2 separate regions of the Homo sapiens genome follow, and region 1 is linked to region 2. The links are contacts of gene promoters, found by promoter capture Hi-C in blood cells and fetal thymus (Javierre and others, 2016). All regions are on one chromosome and are shown on one strand. Each heading gives the region's core, a stretch centred on a gene start or on the middle of the fragment in contact. The rest is flanking DNA. Distances are from core to core; before and after follow the strand shown. Region 1 has its middle 12 kb from the start of LINC01895. Region 2 holds the start of DLGAP1-AS1 (DLGAP1 antisense RNA 1).

The links. The method cuts DNA at HindIII sites, captures the fragments that hold promoters and counts their contacts. A CHiCAGO score of 5 or more calls a contact.
Region 1: a fragment that was not itself captured here is called in contact with the fragment with the promoter of DLGAP1-AS1 in region 2 in 1 of 17 cell types (activated CD4 T cells); the score reaches 5.5 in activated CD4 T cells.

What each region holds. Positions count from the first base shown.
Region 1 is chr18:3,360,470-3,365,196 of GRCh38, forward strand. No RefSeq gene overlaps it. Among named protein-coding and RNA genes, the nearest start is that of LINC01895, 12 kb to the left of the region's middle. The HindIII fragment of the contact is 205 bases long and covers 3,021-3,225 here.
Region 2 is chr18:3,590,300-3,595,363 of GRCh38, forward strand. DLGAP1-AS1 (DLGAP1 antisense RNA 1) reads left to right here and starts at 3,815. Exons shown (of 3, transcript NR_024101.1): 1 at 3,815-3,941; 2 at 4,121-4,185. All of the region lies in intron 7 of DLGAP1 (DLG associated protein 1), which reads right to left. RefSeq lists enhancers at 3,455-3,574, 4,987-5,064 and a silencer at 4,572-4,866. The HindIII fragment of the contact is 5,788 bases long and covers 1-4,712 here.

The DNA of each region.
Region 1 (4,727 bases), core at 1,873-4,372, 230 kb before region 2:
GGCCTCCGTCACGCTCCCTTCTCACTGCCGCTCCAGGCCTCCCGGACCCAGGTCACCTTCGCTTGGATTATAAGAACCAATGCCCCTTTTAGGCTTCCGGGGCAGGCTGACTTCCATTGCTCTTTATCCCCGGAAATGACCGCACATCAGCCTTCCCAGCTCTAAGCTGGGAAAGAAAATCCTTAAGTGATTTCCCCAGTAGAGGCTCTTAGCCGGGACTGCCGATCTACAGCTGGCCGGGGTTAGGGGTGAGGGTGGCGGGGGCTGACAGGTCCTGAGGAAGTGCCCGGAGGCCGAGGGAGGCGGGAAGGAGGAAATGTGTTCTGCCACGGCTGTAAAAGGCAGGGAAGGTTCTAGAAGATGGCTGAAAAAAGCATCCGGCCTACGATAGCCAAGGCGTCTGAGCGCGTGCTTCCGGTATTTCCCATCTTTTCTCAGCAAAGATCGAGGAGTCCCCGAGGCGGAGTCTGAGTGCCTCCGCGGATCTGCCATTTAGGGGCCTCGCGCAGCCATGAGCCAGCTGTGGAACCTTCCTGCCCTTTTCCCCAAGGAACGGGTGCTAGTGCCTGTCCTGCTGGGGTTGCGTGGGCGCTAAATGAACTCACTCGCGACTTGGGTTCCTGTCCCTTCCCTTCTCCATTTTCCAAAATTAAATTCCTCTTCTCTCACCAAATGAAAATGAAGCTCAGGCCTGTAATCCCAGCACTTTGGGAGGCCGAGGCGGGCGGATCACTTGACGGCCGTGGTTCGAGACCAGCCTGGCCGACATGGTGAAGCCCTGTCTCTACTAAAAATGTAAAAATTAGCTGGACTGGGCGGGGCGCGCCTCCAATTCCAGCTACTCGGGAGGCTGAGGCGCGAGAATGGCGTGAACCCGGGAGGCGGATGCTGCCGTGAGCCGAGATCGCAGCACTGCACTCCAGCCTGGGCGGCAGAGCCAGACTCTCATAAAAATGAAAGTGAAGTTAAACCAAGTAAAATGATCATGCTTTGGAGAGAATGAAGTGAGGAGGAAAAAAAGAAAATAATCACCTACAAACGTTGACCTTAAAGCAAATTATACAACTTCGTTTGAAAATATGCCAATCGGCCTGGGAATATGAGGAGATTCTGTTGTTGATGGACAGTGGACTGAACACACACATTTACTGCTTCTCCTTCCAGAAACATGACTGAAATTATGACAAAGGGACAAACAAAAGCTGTAAACACACAGAACCAAGAGTACAGGAGGGAAGACAAGAGCAAAGGCCGGAAGCAGAAAGAGTGGTGAGCTAACTCAGCTCCCCGTAAGGCAGCTTGGTTTCCCGCGGGAAGCACAAGGCAGCCGGGGAAATGGCACGGCAGTGCCTTCTGGAAGAGACATAAAGGAGGGAATGGAACAGGTTGGGTACATCCTTAGGACCCTCCCTCTAAATCTTCAGCGGAGTGAGCCCCACCTTGTTGAGGGGTGGGGGGGTGTGCAAGTCGCTTCCTGAATGTTGGCTGTCAGGTGTAAACCCCCCAGGCAAGAAATCGATTTTTTTTTTTCTTCTGGGGAAGCTGATCAGCATGAGAGAAACATACCTAAAAATCCTGAAACTGAGGGTGTGGAAGGGCCCTCATTGAAGAAGCTCAGCCTCCAAGCAAGCCCAAGCCCCCTTCCATATATGCAAAGTATTCAAACAGCTTTTTAGTAGTTAAATTTTATGCAATGACAGGAAGCCAAGGATGATCAGACATCTGAGGGGGAGTTTCTCATATGAAAGTTGTAGTTCTAAACATCAGTTGGGGGGAAAAATCAATTCAGAGGAAACCTGGACTATACATAGAAGTGAAAACTTAAAAAAAATCAGGAACATTCTCACAGAGATGAACAAATATTTTATCCATGCAGCAGAAACAAGATGTCACCAAAAAACTTTTCAGGAAAAACCCAACTCTTTTTTTTTTTTTTTTTGAGACAGAGTTTTTGCTTTCGTTGCCCAGGCTAGAGTGCAGTGGCACAATCTCGGCTCACTGCAACCTCCGCCTTCCAGTTTCAAGTGATTCTCCTGCCTCAGTCTCCCAAGTAGCTGGGATTACGGGCGCCCACCACCACACCCAGCTAATTTTTTTGTATTTTTAGTAGAGACAGTGTTTCACCATGTTGGTCAGGCTGGTCTCGAACTGCTGACCTCGTGATCCACCTGCCTCGGCCTCCCAAAGTGCTGGGATTACAGGCGTGAGCCACCGTGCCCAGCAACCCAACTCTTAAAAAATTAAAATACCCACATTTAAGATGCCTGTAACTATAAGACACCCAATTATTTTCTGTACCATTAAAAAAAGAAAGCCAGGCACGGTGGCTCACTCCTATAATCCCAGCACTTTAAGAGGCCAAGGCAGGAGGATTGCTTGAGCCTGGGAGTTCAAGACCAGCCTGGCTAATAGAGAAAGACCCCATCTCTACAAAATTAAAAGATAAAAATTAGCCTTGTGTGGTGGTAAACACCTGTAGTGAGCTATGATCATGCCACTGCATTCCAGCCTGAGCAGCAAGATCTTGCCTCAAAAAAAGAGAAAAGAAAAGAAAAAAAACACAAAACCGCTAACCAATGTATGACACTGCTTAACATAACAAGTTTTGCCCATTGAAAAAATCTTTTAATGTTACTTAGAGATAAATGTATTAAACATCACCATTGTTTGTATATATAAAAGAAAAAATAAGCAAAACACTTTACTTAAGGAATTCATAAACATCTTCACATTTAAAGTGTGAGTCCTGTGAAACCAGTTCCCAGCTCAGAATTATTGACATTGTTTTTTCCCCATTTAATATCTTTCTCCATATCATTAAGAGTATTGATGATGCATTATATTTTAGCCAATTGTTCCACTAGTGTGTCAGGGATTTTTTTCTAAGCTATTGATACCAATTTTTTAATTTTGAAGCTAGCACTTAATTTGGCTTTATTTAACTTAAATAATCATTTCACTTTTTCTCCATTGAATCACATCACTGAATGTCATGGTGTTTCGGTCCAAGGTCCGCAGGAAGCTTCTGACAAACTAAGTTTCAATGCTTCAATGATAAACCTGTACAATGCACAAATTGGTCATACCAACTCCTTGTTGCTTTGAAAGTTTTCTCATTTATTCCAAATGATTTGACATTTTTACTGCCTTCAGTTGCATTTCCTGACATGTAGTATCAACATGTGTGGCATCAACCATGCATGTAACTCAACTGAGGAGATGGCAAGCTTGTGCATACACGGGCAATGGCAATGACGCTGTGACTGGTGCCTGAACAATGGTCATTGTCACGGTTCATTATTTATGTAGTACATTCTGATCACAGAGGTTATAAACTGAAAAATATGCATCTTAGAATCAATTAAGAACATTTAAAAAATAGCACTCACAGGCCGGGCACGGTGGCTCATGCCTGTAATCCCAGCACTTTGGGAGGCTGAGGTGGGCGGATCACGAGGTCAGGAGATCAAGACCATCCTGGCTAACACGGTGAAAACCCATGTCTACTAAAAATACAAAAATTAGCCAGCATGATAGCATGCACCTGTAATCCCAGCTACTCAGGAGGCTGAGGCAGGAGAATTGCTTGAACCTGGGAGGCAGAGGTTGCAGTGAGCCGAGATCACGCCATTGCACTCCAGCCTGGGTGACAGAGTGAGACTCCATCTCAAAAAAAATAAAAAAAGCAAGAAAGAAAAAGAAAAAAATAGCACTCACTAGAACGGATGGAAGATAAAATTTAAGAAATCTCTCAGAGAGTAGGAAAAAAAAGACACAGGAAAATAAAATGAAAGAGAAAAGATAAGAAAATTAGAGAATCAAACCAGAAAGTCCAACAAATGAATAACAAGAGTTTGAAAGAGAGAACAGAACATAATGGAGAGAGAAAACAACAAAGAAATAATTTGAGAACATTTCCTGAAACTGACCTATGAGAGTTTTCAGGCCCAGCACTGTGGCTCACACCTGTAATCCCAACAATTTGGGAGGCCAGAGGATCACATCAGCTTAGGAGTTTGAGACCAGCCTGAGCAACATAGGGAGACCTCATCTCTGCAAAAAAATTTAAAAATTAGCTCAGTGTGGTGGCACACACCTGTAGTCCCAGCTACTTGGGAGGCTGAGGTCGGACGATCACTTGAGCCCAGGAGTTTGCTGCCACAGTGAGCCATGATTATACCACTGCACTCCAGTCTGGGTAACAGAGCAAGAGCCTGTCTCAATTTTAAAAGCAAAAACAAAAACAAAAAAGAGCTTTCAGACGGTAAGAGCACACAAAGTGCCAAGCATAGTTACAGTAAGACTTTAGGGTACATCATTGTGAAGAATGAAGAACTTAAAAGATCTTAAAAGCTCCCAAACAGGGCTGGGCATGGTGGCTCACACCTGTAATCCCAGCATTTTGGGAGGCCAATGTGGGAGAATTGCCTGAGGCCAGGATTTTGAGACGAGCCGAGGCAGCATAGTGAGACCCTATCTCTACAAAAAAATTTTAAAACTTACCCGGGCATAATGGTGTGCACCTATAGTTGTAGCTACTTGGGAGGGTGGGATCACTTGAGCCCAGGAGTTTGAGGCTACACCTCTAGCCTGGGTGATACAGCAAGACACCATCTCTAAAAACAAAAACAAAGAAAACTTCCACAAAAAAAAATCTGATTTCTTAGAAAGGAACAGGTCTTAGAATGGTTCTGGACCTCTTAATGACTACATTGTATGCAAATAAA
Region 2 (5,064 bases), core at 2,565-5,064:
GTGCACATTTCTTTCTACCTCTGTATTCAGTCACTTTTCACTGTTAGCTTGAAATTGTTGACCTTGGTGTATTTACACCATGGAAATCAGCAAATGCCTGAAATCCAGGTTCCCCCCTGTGGATTTTCTTCAATCAGAGAGCCGGTTGTTAAGCATTTCCAACACCCCTGTGTGTACAGAGCAGGGTTATTCAAAGCCTGGTCTGCAGAGTGGTGCCCGTTTGCAAACTGTGTCACAGTGCAGGGTGACACATGCTATGAAAATTGAGTGTAGGGTCAGGTACGGTGGCCCACACCTGTAATCCCAGCACTCTGGGAGGTCGAGGCCAGTGGATCACCTGGGGTCAGGAGTTTGAGACCATCCTGGCGAACATGGTGAAACCCTGTCTCTACTAAAAATACAAAAATTAGCCGGGGGTGGTGGCACATGCCTGTAATCCCAGCTACTCAGGAGGCTGAAGCAGGAGAATTGCTTGAACCCGGGAGGTAGAGGTTGCAGTGAGCCGCAGAGGTTGTAGTGAGCCGAGACGGTGCCATTGCACTCCAGCCTGGGCAACAAGAATGAAACCCCGTCTAAAAAAAAAAACAAAGAAAATTGAATGTAAGTGTTTAGAAACTTTTATAGCAATTTTATAGAGTGTTTTACCTGTTGAATCTAAAAACAAAACAAAACAAAACAAAAATTATGGGTTTGTTTTTTGTATGTCTTAAAAAAAAAGTCCTCTTTCTAGTAATTCTTTTTTGTTGCATTTTACCAAAGCACTAATCTGCAGCAGATTGAGGGCAAACAAACAAACTGGTCCCTTACCAGAGATAGGCTGAGAAGCACTGAAAAGAACATTTGCAAATCCAGGGAACAGGGCAGAGGTAGTACAAGTGAGATTAAGAATATATTCAAGAGGTAACTTGAAGCCACAGGCTATTTTAGAAAACAAAATGATGTGAAGAGGCCAAAAGAAAAAAAAGAAACTTGGAAGGACCTAAACTGGGGACATAAATGTATTTCTATTGTAGAAATACAGAATGGGAACGATTGGACTTATGGTTGTAATGTCAGGTAAGGTGTCTATTTCAGGAAAGGCATGTAGGATTAGAAGTATGGACCTAGGCCTGTTGCGGTGGCTCATTCCTGTAATCCCAGCACTTTGAGAGGTCCAGGTGGGAGGATCTCTTTGAGCTCAGGAGTCTGAGACCAGCTAGAGCAACATGGTGAAACCCATCTCCACAAAATTATCCAGGAGTGGTAGAATCCTGCCCCAGCCTTCCAAGTAGGTGGCACCTGTAGTCCCAGCTACTTGGAAGGCTGGGGCGGGAGGATTGCTGAAGCCCAAAAGATTGAGGTTGCAGTGAGCCAAGATCACACCACTCCAGCCTGGCGACAGAGCAAGACTACGTCAAAAATAAAAAACAAAAAATAAAAATAAAAAGACGGGGTGTTTCATTTGGAAAAGAAGAAAGGGGGGTTTTCAATTATTTGGAGGGCTCTTGCTTAGAGGATAGCATGGGCCTGTTTTGTATAAGTCCCCAAAGGAACAACAAAGGCAAGGGCTCAGAGAGGCATAAAGAATAATTCTCCAGGCATTGATTGTCCGTCCATAGAAGGAATATGAGGACCTCATAACAGAGGGAGTTCTCAGCCCCTGGACCTGTTCAAGCACAGACCAGCACATCTTTTGGCTGGGAGGCTATAGCAATTGTACCAACATCTGATAGGGGGCTCAACTAGATGACAAGGTTTCTTTCAAATTGGATGGTTATGATAATGAGTGAAATTTAGACAAGAATTTGCAAACTAGGGAGGGTCCCACAGAGAATGATGCTGAAGAGCTGAAGAAAGAAGCCAAAAAAGGAGGCCAGAGAAAGAGCTCCAACGAGGCTGTCTGGTAGCAATGATGAATGTTCTGCCATCTTGGGAAAGCAGCTGGCACTGATGAGGACAAAATAACTAATAGACAAGTTTGCTGCTGCTGCTTCCAGCCAAGCAGACCCCATAGTTGTGCACTTAACAGTGCATCATAGGGCTCCTGCTCCTTGCGGTGATGTGTTATGCTGGCCGGACTTTCCAACAAATGCCAGACAAATCAGCGGTCTGGCTGGAGTCCTCCACCGGCAAAAATGCGCAAACCCTGGCAACAACAAAGATGATGAGATGAGATTCAGTCCAGACCCGTGACATGCCATTAGATCTTCCTAATCACCAGAGAGCAAATCCTTACTCTGTGTACTGGACACTGTGCTAAGAACTTAATAGACATGGGGGCTGGGTGTGGTGGCTCACACCTGTAATCCCAGCACTTTGGGAGGCTGAAGCATAAGGATCGCTTTAGCCCAGGTGTTGGAGACCAGCCTGGGCAACAGAGTGAGACCTCGTCTCAAAAAAACCCAAACAACAACAACTAGCTGGTCATGGTGGTGCACGCCTGAAGTCTCAGCTACTCGGTAGGCTGAGGTGGGAGGATCACTTGAGCTTGGGAGGTGGAGGCCGCAATGAGCCATGACTGTGCCACTGCACTCCAGCCTAGGTGACAGAGCAAGACCCTGCCTCAAAAAAAAAAAAAAAAAAAAAAAAGAAAAAGAAAGAAAGAAAAAGAAAAAGAAAAAGAAAAAGAAAAAAAAGAAAGAAAAGAAAAGAAAAAGAAGAAAATAGACATGATCTCACATATGTGAAAGATCCCACTATCCCCATTTAACTGATGAAAATATTAAGGCTCAGAGCAGGCAACGGACATCCCTAACTCATCTAGAGATTCAGTGACAGAGTTAGAGTACTCAGGGCTCCAACTCCCATCTGACCATTAACTCAAACCACCTTTGTTTATCTCCCCCGCCCCCCGCCAGTAAACACTCTCTAGTAAACACCTTGTCCACTAAAGCACCGTGGTTTCCACGAGGGACTCCTTCGTGCACAGCCATCCTCACTCTGCAGGAACTCTTAAGTTTCAGTGAATGAATGAATTTGGAGTGGTCAACAAGGGGTGCACAGTTGCAACTTTTAAAATATTGCAGAAGGAGAGAAATGCCACAAAACAAAATGCACATGGAAAAATCACTACCTTATTTCAAAATATTTACAGCTTCACATTTAAGGCCACCCAAAGCGTGGCGGTCAGTGGTGAGAAGGCAGAGATCAGAGGCTGTTGGGGTGGGTCATACACCATGATTCCCGGCCCCCCTCTGGGAGATACAAGGTATCCCACAGTCTTCTCTCCCAGTTACATCCTCCACGGAAACCACAAGATGACTCGCTCAACTTTTTCTAAAGTAGAAAAAAATATGCTTGTGTGTGTGTGTAAGGGGAGGAGAGGGGATGTGAATGAAATGGAGGGTAGTGTAATAATTCCTGTAGTCATAAGACACGCCAGTTGGTAGTTGCTAGTATTCCAGACACTTCCTAACGCCAGACAAATGCCCCAAGCCTCGGCATGTCTGGCCTAGAGATCTATTCAACTGATAGCAGCCGCCTCTTCTGGGGAGAGCAGATCTTTCAGAAAGCACTGGCTGCGCTGCTAATCAAACGCAACATTGTTCTCAGCAAGGAGGAAGAATGGAAAGGTTTGTTTCAGAGTCACAACTTTATTTTTTTTAAAAGGCACCCAAGTTGTTTCAACAAGCTGCTACAAAACTTGGGCTTCCTGAGTGGAGGCTGTTTTGCACAGTGCATGTACTGTACAAAAATCCAGGCAGGGAGGGGTCAGAGAGTTCGTCATTAAAGAAAAAAAAAAAAAAAAGCCCCAGGCACTTGATGCCTGGAAATGATGTCAGACGCAGCCACTCCTCTGTTAGAACTACAGCCAAACAATGCGCAGGCAATCCACAGCAGCTGCCCCTGCAAATGTCAGCGCCAGCCCAGTCAAAAGAGCTTGAAACCTACCAAGCCGGAGGACTGTGCTGTGCCTCTCTCGCCCACATTTTCCCCAAGCACTCTCAGGAACCTGGCAACAGGTAACGTGGCAACCTTTGACTTATAAAAGGGCAAGTGGCACAATCTCAGGGAACAAATGGACTTTTTTTTAAAGCCAGCATCTCCCCCACCACTCCCACACCCCCCTCCCTCCCTCCCTCCCTCCCAACCAAAAGTCTGTAAAAAACAAAACATTGACGCGGGCAGTCCTACTCTCTAGTGTCCCCTTGTGGCCAAGCCTGGAACATCACATCTGTACGTTGCAATCTGTGGATCAGCTACGAGGTAAGTCGCTCTTTGGAAGGGGTGGAGGTCTTTGCTGGACTTGTCTTCCGAAAAGTATGAAGAGTGGAAGTCAAGGCTCAGAATGGCGTCCTTTTTTACCTTATCACCTTAACAAAAACTTCACCTTAGCTGCAGGGTTAAACCTCTGGGTTGGGGCTGGGGATTTTCGTTGTTGTTGTTTTAAAGCAGCAGCCAAGGCCATGTTTTTTAAGGTGGTGAGTTAAACGGAGCAAGAGCTGCGGTAGCCTTTTCCACCCAATCTCTTTCTTCACATCCTAGTCACAGCCAAGGGTAGGGTGGATGGCAGTGAGGATAAACAGCCCAGAAACAGGATTCCTGCAGGGTGGGACTGGCATTTTCCATTTTTATCTGAAGTTGTACTTTGAATGCAGACACCTTTCTCTCAGGCCAGAAGCACTGCTCATTTGTATTGCTGGCTTCCAGTTAGCCTATTTGCAAGGATTACTTAGGATTTCCAGACTGCAGGCCCAGCTACCCAGAGAGTGTGCCTCAAAGCCCCACCTCAAAGCTTTTATCTCTATGTGGCGGGAAACACCCACGAAAATGCCAACGGCGGTATTTGTAACTTGCCTTCTTCCTTTTGGGAACTGCTTTCTGCAGCTCTCTCTGCGTTAGAGGAATAGCTACAGCTGGGAGCTGCTCCAGCCACGCAGGAGGAGAGGGCACCCATTGAGAGGCGGGCACCCCTTCTGTCTCCCTCTGGCTATGTTAACTGGAAACTAGGAAAGGGGTTCAGATCAAAGTAACTGCTGTCTTCAGAAAGTTCCATTCATTAACTAAGTTAGCGGAAATTAAATGGTGTTTGGAGGAAGGTCATTTCAGAAGGCCCAGGGCCAGAGGCTGAGGTCTAAAACTTCT